Regions from separate parts of the Homo sapiens genome. Here regions 1 and 2 are each linked to region 3. Evidence: promoter capture Hi-C in 16 types of primary human blood cells and fetal thymus (Javierre and others, 2016). All regions are on one chromosome and are shown on one strand. The core of a region is centred on a gene start or on the middle of the fragment in contact, and the rest is flanking DNA. Distances in the headings are between cores, read along the strand shown. Region 1 has its middle 3.1 kb from the start of STUM. Region 2 overlaps STUM (stum, mechanosensory transduction mediator homolog). Region 3 holds the start of PSEN2 (presenilin 2).

Region 1 (3,762 bases), core at 601-3,100, 320 kb after region 3:
CTCTGAATAAAATAATTTTAAAAGCAAATGGCCAGGGGTTAGTGATGATACTGGTGGACACACACATGCGTGTGTACACATACACAGATACACACACACACGAGTCATTAGCTTAGGTTTGGCAGTCAGAAGAACAGGGTTAAAAATTTTAGTCTTTGTTCAGCCACTAAAACCTGTATGGCTTAGAAGAACTCGCTTAGCCTTTTCTGGCCTGGAGTTACTGTGTTGGTTAAAATCATAGCAAGCTTCCATTTAATACACAATTATTGAAGGCCTACTAAGACTTAGATTCCAGGGAGAGAGAAATGAGTAAAATCCAGCCTCTGCCTTCAAGAATCTAAGAAATGAGCTGAGAGATACTGACAACTACAAAGATAGACTTACAGAAACAGTGAGGAATGTTGCAGCTGTGATGTGCTGGAGGTGCTGCGACAACATGGACCTATCTGTGAAGCCAGCTAGCGTGGGGGAGGCCTCGGGGAGGTGTCCCAAAGAAGGCGATACTCAAAGGGACTTGAGCAATGACTACAGTTAACTATTTGCAGATTTGTTTTATTTTCAACAAACACTTATTTACCCAAGCACTCTCTGCCAGGCATCATTCTAAAAACCCTTTACACATTTTAACTCTTTTAATCCTTACCATAACTCTACAAAGTAAGGATTATTTATTACCCCATTTTACAGATGGGGCAATTGAAGCACAGAGAAGTTAAACAGGCTGCACAAAGTCCCCCACTAATCAGTGGTAGAGCTGGCAGCTGAATGCAGGCAATCTGGCTCCAGAATCAATTCTATATAACCAGTATTTTATTCAGAGACCTAGAAAATAACCCACATTCTGTGAATATTCTTTTGCAGAGCACTTGAACTGTCTTAGGGCCAGTCAATCATTCCTCCTGGAGAAAAAGGATTTCAGGGACGTCAGTGGATTTGCATCCCCCAGTTTTCCAGATGATTTGCTGAATATCTTGGATGTCAGAAAGACATCCAGGCAGAGCAACAAAATATACAAAGGCATGGGAGCCCAGGGAAGTAGGGATGATTCCAGGAATTGCAGTGTGGCTGGCACTAGGGCTTGTGTGGGCAGAGACAGGAGATGGATCTGGTGGGGTGGACAGGCATCTAGTACTGAATGGCAAAGGAATTTGGACTTCATCTCGGTGGTGGTGATGCAGAATCACTGGAACATTTTAAGCAGGGGTGTGGCATAAGTGTTCCAGTTACTATCACTGTGTCACAAATTACCCCCAAATTTAGCAGCTTAACACAACCATTTTTTTCTGATCACAAATTCTGTGGTCAGGAGCTTGGACAGAGCACACCAAGATAATTCTTCTTTGCTCCTTGTATCTGGAGCCTCAGCTCGGGAGACTGAAATGGCTGATAGCTGGAACAGCTGGGGCTAGAGGATCCACTTCTGAGAAGATTCTCAGGAATCTCAGCCTGCCTGGACTGGGGTAACTTGAAAGCTGGGTCAACTAGGATGGGTCAGCAAAGCGCCTACACATGGCCTCCCCACGTGACTTGGACTTTTCACACTATGACAGCTGGCTTCTGAGAGGGAATTTCCTGAGAGGAGGCCCCCAGAGAATGAACATTGCAGGACCAGTGGAAGCTGTGTGGACTTGGACTTTTCTGCCCTAACTTTGGAAGTCACACAGTGTCACTTCTGCAGGGCTTTACTGGTCGATGCAGTCACAAGCCTGCCCAGATTTCATGGGGGACACCCCGCCTCTCTATGGAGGGGTGTCAAAGACTTGGGCCTAGGCTTTAAAACCACCACCATTATGAGATATATTTGTTCACAGTGTGGAAGATGGGCTGGAGGGGATAAAATCAGGTCACATGCTTATATAGAGGCTGAGGGGGAGGAGGACTCTTCCTGACTGAAAAGGACTGAGAATGGGGTAGGGACAGTTCCCAAATGAAAACTGGGTATTAATAGCAGACAAGGAGGAAATGAGTTTGAAGGGTCTGAACACATCCGAGAGGTAGCGGGGACTCATTGATAAATGGCCAGCATAGATAATTGTCTTGATAAAAGTTGGATATTGAGTCAAATCGAGAATCAAGGAAGCAATTGGGGCTGCAGATTTGGGAGCCATCAGCATACAAATGGTAGTTAGAGCCCTGTATGCAGATGTGGAATTTAAAAAGTCACAGAGGCTGGGCGCAGTGGCTCATGCCCGTAATCCCAACACTGGGACGCTGAGGCAAGAGGATCACTTGAGCCCAGGAGTTCAAGACCAGCCTGGGCAACATGGCAAAACTCCATCTGTACGAAAAATACAAAAATTAGCTGGGCGTGGTGGTGCACACTTCTAGTCCCAGCTACTCAGGAGGCTGAGGTGGGAGGATCACCTGAGCATGGGGAGGTCGAGGCTGCAGTGAGCCGTGTCGCACCACTGCACTTCAGCCTAGGCAACAGAGTGAGACTCTGTCTCAAAAAAAAAAAAAAAGTTACAGAATTTCTGTAATTAAGCAGAAAGGAAAAAGGAGGGAAACGAGGTTTACATGGAGAAACACTACTAACAGTGTTTCATGGAAGCCAAAACAGGAAGATTTTAAGGAGGATGCAGTCAGCAGTGTCAAATTCACTGAAGGGTAAGGTAAAACCCCAAAAGTGCCCTTAGATTTGGCAGTTGGGAGATTTAACTCTCTGAGATCCTAGCTAAAATGTCTCACATGCTATGTATCCCTTTTCTAGGAACGTGTCCATTTCGTGGAAGTTATGGAATTTGTTGGCATAAAACTTTTTCTACTTTCCTCTTATCTTTTTAATGTCTGTCAAAGCTGTAATGATGTCTCCTCTTTCATTTCTTATATTGTTCATCTGTACATTCCTTTTTTCCTTACCGCTCTTGCAAGAGGTTTATACAGCATCTACTTGACATTGTGATTGCAGCTGATGTTTGTAGGAGAGTTTAAGATCTAAGGTATTTCAGGGAGGAAGAGGCTTCCGAATAAAAGTTAAAACCTTAAATGATCATCTCAAAAAATCAGACACAAACGCAACAGGGGAAACAGACCAAACAGTTCATTACATCAGCCAAATAATACATCTGGGCCAAGCACTGGGTCATGAAGATAAAAATATATTTCTTGGCCTTGTTCTGTCATCAGATGAATAAAGTACATCAAGTTTTGGACATTTTTTAGCTAAAATAAAAATTTGCTGAAGTCAGCTTCCAAACTGCATGAGGAATTCCTATTCCAACCTGGAAGAGAGCTTCCAGGTGGTTCCTTTTTGGCAAAGACTGGCATCATAGCATCAGCAGTGGAAAGACAAACTTTGTTTGAAGCTCTGAGCCTTTGAAAAAGTTTTTTAACCTCTCTGAGCTTCGGTCTTCAAAATTGTAAATAATACCTAGCTCATTTGTGTATAAGAGGATTAAGTGAGATAATACGTATAAGGCACTCAATAAGTAAATGGCAACTGAATCAGAAGCTTTTTCATGCCAAGTGATGGAACACAACTCAAATTTAGTTTATGGGGAAAAAAGTATGGATGTAATGTCTTTTTGATGTATCAACTTGGCTAGGCTCAACTCTAGCCCACAGAATTCCCTTTCTAGTTAGTTTCCATTTATGTTGGGCCAATGGGAATATTCTTGCTCAAGAGTTGGAAGGCAGAAGGGAGGCAGCAGCCATTTTGTAGTTTTCACACACTTCTCTGAGGTATCTAATCAAATACAAATCTGGGTGTTTCCGTGAAGGAATTCTGCAGATGTGATTTAAAGTTCCCAATCAGGGTGGGCG
Region 2 (3,476 bases), core at 273-2,772, 260 kb after region 3:
CCTGAATTTTCTTGGCTGAACTAAGGAAAAGTCCTGCAACTTTATCACCCCAAGTTGTTCCTGACGTGTTTTATGTAAACTGAATCTTGGGTCCCATGACCCTTCCCTAAGGCTTTACTCAGAGGCTGACTTGGTATTAGGAGCCCAGAAATGTCCATCTTGGTCCTCTTGGGAATGAAGACCCATCCTCTGGTTTCGGTGGCCCAACATGCAGCCTGCACTGATGTGCCTCCCAGGGTCCCCCACCTGGGACTCTCACTGCACTAGGTTTGGGCTGTGCTCCTCCTCTGAGGAATGCATCGCCAACCCCGTCCTCAAACCCAAGCACTGCCTTCCCATCTCCTCGAGCCCCTCGTCCCCTGCACATCCTCATGTGTCCCTTCCTGTGACTGGCCACTGGCAAGCATGAGCCTCTCCCAGGGCCTAGGGTCTGGGGTGTAGGGAGTTGCGGGGAGCAGATGCCTACATGTTTGTCACAGCCCTTTCCTTCTGGGTTTGAGGAGAACTCTGTCAAAGTTGTCACCCCCCAGCAGAGAGGCAGTGGCTGGCTCAACCCACGTGACCCTTCCTGAGGTTAAGAGGCTTGGTGCTGGGAGAAGAGAAGGAATGTGAGTTAGTACATTCAAATGGTATCTTCCCTTCACTTGGCAGTGCTGGAAGGGGAGCTAACTTTATCTCCCATTGTGCCTTCTGATGAGCCCCTCTGAAACTGAGTGACTGCAGAAGAATCCTCCAGCCGGGGCATTCCAGTTTAATCTGAGCACATCGAGTGTTTGGACAATGCAAGTGATCACAAAATGCTCCCTAGAGTGTCTGGGGGACTCTGAGAGTGCCTTAGGTCATTGTACTGCCTTGGGCTTTAGGTCCTGGTCTTAGCAGCAACTGAAATCATCCTCAGGCACAGATGCCATTTCTGGGGCCTTGGAGGGGCCATCGCAGTAGAGCTTCAAGTCTCACCAGAGGTTGTGCTTTGAAGATGATTCACTCTTTTGGACAACAGCAGCATCGAGGCCATTAAGACTGCAGCCTCTCCTGGGGTAAGTGGACCCTAAGGGTGCTGGGCTGGCCTGAGGAAATGGCAGGAGGCAGGGCGGGGCCCTTCCCTTGGGTGTGAGTGACAGGAATGACACCTGGACACTCGTTGTCAGAGCACTTGCTCCCCCATGGCACCCAGTACTGAATGCAACGCTGCAGATGCGGTTTCATTCCGGACCCCAGCCTGCAGCTCCTCGTGCATCTGAAACCAGATGGCCTGTGTAGTCAGCCCCAGCATGCCGTGAAGAACACTGAGCTGCCTGTTGAGTAACTCCCCAGGGATGAAGGAAAGCACGGAGCTTTCTTCATGTCAAGCACAACTCTTTCATTGAATGCTATTAGATTTCATCGAGTTAGATTGCCTCTGCCCGTCAGGAGATTTTGGGATTCTGATTTGTTCGTCTAATATACTTATTTCTCCTTATCCACAAATTTGGTCAGTTCTGTAGGTCTTCATCCCATTATGAGTAAAGGCATTGGCTGGGTTGTGGATGCAATTCTCTCCCAGGTGCAACCTGTCCTTCGTTGTAACTGAACAGGTAGTTATACATTCTCCTAACCACTCTTACCCAGACTCTCATTTATTCAGAAGTCTTTGTCAAATATGTATGTTGCCCACATTTCCCTCATCAACCAGTCTAACAATTAACAGCAGGAAATGAGCTGCATCTGTACACTTATTCTTGGTAAACTCAATCTGGGGCCTGATGCTTGATTTAGCACGCAAATTCCTGGTTGCAAAGGGATCAGATTATCAAAGATGAGGCTGTTTGAAGAGTAACTTGCACAAGCCTTTCGGAAGAAGGGGAATTCGGGAAAAAGGTCTGAAAGAACTCAAGACCCGCCTTGGGGGAGGACAGCCTTCATAACGGAAAGCCAACCAATAGCAAAGGCTGCAGAGGTGGGGAGGAAGGCGCGTTGTCCCAGAGATCTGTCCGATTAGGAACACGGGAGGACACAGGGATTTGAGAAACTACCAGAAAGGTCACATGAATGTTTATTACAACATAGAAAAGAGGGAAAGGAAGAAAAAGGTTTCCAAAGCCGTATTTCCAAGGATTTAAAAAAACACAAACTTGGAATGCCAAAGAGATGTCATGCTTTATATATTTATAATAGGAAGGTGTGTGTATGTATAAATATGTACATGGAAATATGTACACAGGTTTTGACTGTCATATATAGTATTTTTCATTGCATGTACAGTAATGCTGCTTGAGTGAAGGGTTTTAAAGCTGGCAGAAGGCTGGAGAATCTGGAACCCTGCTTGGCCCCTAGAGGGCGCTGTGGAGACCACCTAAGCAGCTCCCAGGGAAGGTCTGCCGGGGCTGGGGCTGGGTCCTGAGGGTGTTGGGGAAAGCTGAGCTGCAGGCGGGCTGGGGCCCCAGGCTGCAGGGTTCCGGCCAGGGCAAGTCTGGAAGCGTCCCTACGTCCCCGACATTAGACGTTTTCTTCCAAGAAGGGTTTCAGTCATTGGAATAGGCTGGAAATACCCTCATGGCTGGACTGGGGTGGGGTGGGCTCCCAGCAGGTCAGGGTAGAAGTGAGACAAGAAAACCCCAGGAGCTCAGGGTCTTCTCTAAGAACAGTGAAAACGCACAGCAGTTAATTTCACAGAAAGAAGAGAGACCCAAACAAAGCCAATCACGGTGTCAAAACACTGCAAATCACAACACAACACTCATTCATATGCAAATTAAGTTGATACACACAGAACCAGTTGTTTTGTTTTTATATATGTTGTTTAAAAAAAAAATGGCACCACGCACAACAGCAGGGAACTCAGCCAATGAAAAGGGCTGGCCACAGGTTCTCATGGGTGCCCAGGCCTTCTGGGGTGACGGTGCCCACGAGGAGCCTATTACAGCCACCATCACCTTGTCCCTTGCTTGAAACATCCAATCAAGCGCTAACCCAGAAAACGGTGAATGGAACCTCCCTCTCCCTTCTTTCCTCCCTGGTTCCTGTGCTGGAGCAGGTGGGTGGGAACACTGCCCCTCTCCTCTGGGCAGGTCTGCCTTCTCCTTCCCACAGGAGGCCAAGCTGGGGTTGTGGGGAATGGGCACAGCCAGGTTTGGTGCTGAGCCCATTCACCCTAGGAGTGCATGGGAGGAAGAGATCCACAGGCTAGGGCCCTGGAGACAGGAAACAGCATGTGCATGTGGGCTGGGCAGGGGTCAGGGATGTGATGAGGGAAAAAAGTGCTGCCAGCCAGTGCCCATCCTGGAAGAGGGGGTGTGGGCTCCTTTGGAGATAAGTCCCAACCCTGAGGCTCCAGGCAGACCCTGGCCTGCATCCCCCAGCAGTCAAAGGTGCTGGGAATGTGTGCGAGTGTGTGCCTCTGTCCATGTGGGGGTGAAATGCAATGGGGATGGACTGTGGCATCCACACCTGCCCGGATGGTTGGCATTTTGGCAAATTCAGGCAGAGAGGGAGAGGGT
Region 3 (3,386 bases), core at 158-2,657:
CCAAAGGGTACAGAGTTTTCCCCAAAAACCTGATACATCCATCCCACTTCAAAGCAACATGCCCCCAAGCCCTCACTCCAGTCTCTGCCCTGGAACCCAAGGCTCAACGTGGGCGTCGTGAGGACGCAGCTCTGAGGTGGGGCCAAGAACCAGGCCCCTTCTGCACCTGCGCCAGTCACCGGCTGCCCACAACCACATTCAGGAGAGAAGAACCTGAGGCTCACACACCTGAAGCAGCTTATCCCGAGACTCCAATTACCGCCAAAGGTCTTGGCTGAAGGCCTTGGAGGCTCAGGTGTCTGCAGAATTGGCTACAGAGGCATCAGAGGCTTCCTTACTGGAAGCTGGGGTCGGTCCTAATCAAGTTACTTCGTAGACAGCCTTGGCAACCCCAGGCTGTCGCTTCTGAGTTAAGTTAGTCTACAATCGTCTCTATGGAATGCTCTCAGGTTCTCCATTTGTAAATAGGGATGCAGTTACTTCACTCAACACCGTTCATACCTTTCAAAGGGAATACTTATTAAGGCAATAAACAGGGGTGAGGTCTGCTCGGAGGGATGGACAGCAGATCTAGAAGCCAGGACACTGGGGTCGAAGCCTGGCTCTGCTATATCGTACCTGGGCGACCTTGGGAAAAGTCACTTTAGCTCTGTGGCCTCAGTTTCTTCATCAGTAAAATTCAGAGGGGGGACTAGCTTCTGTCTCAGGTTCCTTCAGCTCCAAAAGCTTGCTTCTGGCTGTCTCCTCACTGCTGGAAATGCCTGATAAAACAGCCAAACACCGCTGCTAACAGAAACCGGCTCTAGGCTTGAGCCTGCGGCCCTGCCCCTCACGTGCGGGCAGAGCCCCCGCGCGCCTCCTTCCCGGGGAAAGCATGCCCAGGACCCGGTGCTAGAGGCCGAATGGACTCGGCGCAACGGAGGTCTCCGGCGAGAGAGAAGAAGAACAAAACGCCCCCGCCTGCTACACGCCTCAGAGACCCACGTGCACCGCTCCTTTAAATGCACCGGCCCTTTAACCGCTCGCGCCGCGCCCACCCCCAGCCGGGGCTCGGCGGCAGGCGGGCGCAGGGAAGTGGGGACGCAGTGAGGCCGAAGGCCTGAGGGCCGCTCCCCGCGATCCTTCCACGACCCAGTTCCGGGCCGGCCCAGCCGCCGCCTGCCGGGCACTCTCCTCTCTCCGCCCCCGCGCTGGCCGCAGAGGCCAGGAGCGCTGCGCACGCAGGGGCCGCAGACCCACAGCCGGGGAAGGGACCGTGGCCAGAGGCGTGCGGAGGGCAGGGCAGGGCCCTCAGGGCGCAGCCCCACCCCGGGCCCTCAGCGCCGCAGGCGACAGGGCCCTGGCCTGGGCACCCCCCGGCACCGCCCGCTCACCTGCTCTGCCGCCGCGCTCCAGCGGAGTTTACGCAGCTGGCTGAGCGCCCGGCCGGACCCGGCGCCGGCCCAGGCCCCGCCCCACGCCCGCCCAGGCCACGCCCGGTGGGCGACGCCGCGTTCCCTCGTCCACTGGGGCCCCACCTGGAGTCCCGGGCGCGCGGGGAGGGTGGCCTTCACGCCGCGTGGATGACAGGGTCATCCCGACGTCGGAACTAAGCGACGACCTTAGAAGGAGTGGAGGCCGGGCCTGTCATCTTCCTGCGGGCCTGGCAGCAGCGTGGGGCGGTAGGACATAGGCTTCGAGGACACTCTTTCTTGTAGTTTTGGGTCCACATCCCCTCCTCCTCCCGGTTGTTCTCACATTAAAGGAGCACTAATGGCCCAATGTGAGCTAACACCATGAGAATGTTCCTGGTCTGTTCCCTAGGGCGCTTCAGAGCCACCAGGAGCTCTGCATAAAATTGAACAGGAATAAATTGCTGCCTGACCTGAGAATTGGCCTAGGGGGTTGTGGTTCCAGGATTTGGGGTCTGTGGGGTAGGTTGAGATTGTCAATAATTTGGCGTTGTCTGAGTAGTTTTACTTTTTTTTTTTTAACTTAAGGTGAAATTCACATAACATAAAATTTACCATTTTAAAGTGGGCATTTCAGTGGCATTTAGTGAATTCACAATGCTGTGCAACCACCACCTCTGTCTAGTTCCAAAACATTTTCCTCATTCCGAAAGAAAAACCCCATACCCATTGAGAAGTTTCTTCCCAATGCCCTCTTCCCCCCCAGCCCCTGGCAATTACCAGTCTACTTCTGTCTCTATATTTACTTACTTTAGATACTTCATATAAACGGAATCACAGTGTGTGGACTTTTGTGTCTTTCACTTAGCATGTTTTCGAGGTTCATCCTCAGGTAGCATGTAACAGACTTTATTCCTTTTTATGACTGAATAGTGTTTGTGTGTGTATATGTATATGTGTGTGCGTGTGTGTGTGTGTATCATGTATGCCACAGTTTATTCATCTATGGACATTGGGGCTGTTTGCATCTTTTGGCTTTGTGAATAATGCTACCATGAACATGCATGTACATGTATTTGTTTGAGAGCCCATTTTTATTTGGGGAGGGTACATACATAGGGGTTGAATTGTTGGATCGCATGGTAATTCAATTTTTTTTTTTTTTTGAGACAGAGCCTTGCTCTGTTGCCCAGCCTAGAGTGCAGTGGCCGCAATCTTGGCTCACTGCAACCTCTGCCTCCCAGGTTCGAGCAATTATCTTGCCTCGGCCTCCTGAGTAGCTGGAGTTACAGGTGTGTGCCACCACATCTGGCTAATTTTTGTATTTTTAGTAGAGATGGGGTTTCCCCATGTTGGCCAGGCTGGTCTTGATCCTGAACTCAAGTTATCTGCCTGCCTTGGCCTCCCACAGTGCTGGATTATAGGCATGAGCCACCGTGCCCAGCCTTCAGTGTTTAACTATTTGGGGAACCCCAAGTGGTTTCCACGATGGCTGAACCATTTTATATTCCTACCAGCAATGTACAGGATCCCAATTTCTCCACATCCTCACCAACACTTGTTATTTTCCATTTTATTGTTATCCTAGTAGGTGTGCAGCGGTACCTCATTCTGGTTTTGGTTTACATTTTCCTAATAACTAATGCTATTAAGCATTCTCCTTTTCATGTGTTTGTTGGCCATCTGTATATCTTCTTTGGAGACATGCCTATTCAAGTCCTTTGCCCATTTTAAAATTGGGTTGTCTTTTTGTTGTTGGGTTGTAAGAGTTCTTTATATATTCTGGACACTAGACCCTTATCAGATATATGCTTTGCAAATATTTCTCTCCCATTCTGTAATTGTCTTTTTCACTTTCTGATGTCCTTTCATGCACATAAAACTTTAATTTTGATGAACTTCAGCTTAACTGTTTTTTCTTTTGTTGTTTGTGCATTTGGTGTCCTGTGTGAGATATCATTGTCAAATCCAAGGTTGTGAAGATTTACTCCTGTG

The links. The method cuts DNA at HindIII sites, captures the fragments that hold promoters and counts their contacts. A CHiCAGO score of 5 or more calls a contact.
Region 1: a fragment that was not itself captured here is called in contact with the fragment with the promoter of PSEN2 in region 3 in 2 of 17 cell types (M1 macrophages and M2 macrophages); the score reaches 5.9 in M1 macrophages.
Region 2: a fragment that was not itself captured here is called in contact with the fragment with the promoter of PSEN2 in region 3 in 3 of 17 cell types (total CD8 T cells, naive CD8 T cells and erythroblasts); the score reaches 5.7 in total CD8 T cells.

The regions. Positions count from the first base shown.
Region 1 is chr1:226,543,792-226,547,553 of GRCh38, reverse strand. No RefSeq gene overlaps it. Among named protein-coding and RNA genes, the nearest start is that of STUM, 3.1 kb to the left of the region's middle. The HindIII fragment of the contact is 3,206 bases long and covers 248-3,453 here.
Region 2 is chr1:226,607,754-226,611,229 of GRCh38, reverse strand. STUM (stum, mechanosensory transduction mediator homolog) reads right to left here. Exons shown (of 4, transcript NM_001003665.4): 4 at 2,000-3,476. Among named protein-coding and RNA genes, the nearest start is that of STUM, 61 kb to the right of the region's middle. The HindIII fragment of the contact is 6,073 bases long and covers 1-3,476 here.
Region 3 is chr1:226,868,637-226,872,022 of GRCh38, reverse strand. It overlaps PSEN2 (presenilin 2), which reads right to left and starts at 1,407. Exons shown (of 13, transcript NM_000447.3): 1 at 1,374-1,407; 2 at 619-761. It overlaps LOC105373119 (a long non-coding RNA gene), which reads left to right and starts at 1,473. Exons shown (of 3, transcript XR_949226.4): 1 at 1,473-1,661. RefSeq lists silencers at 945-994, 1,005-1,604. The HindIII fragment of the contact is 3,629 bases long and covers 729-3,386 here.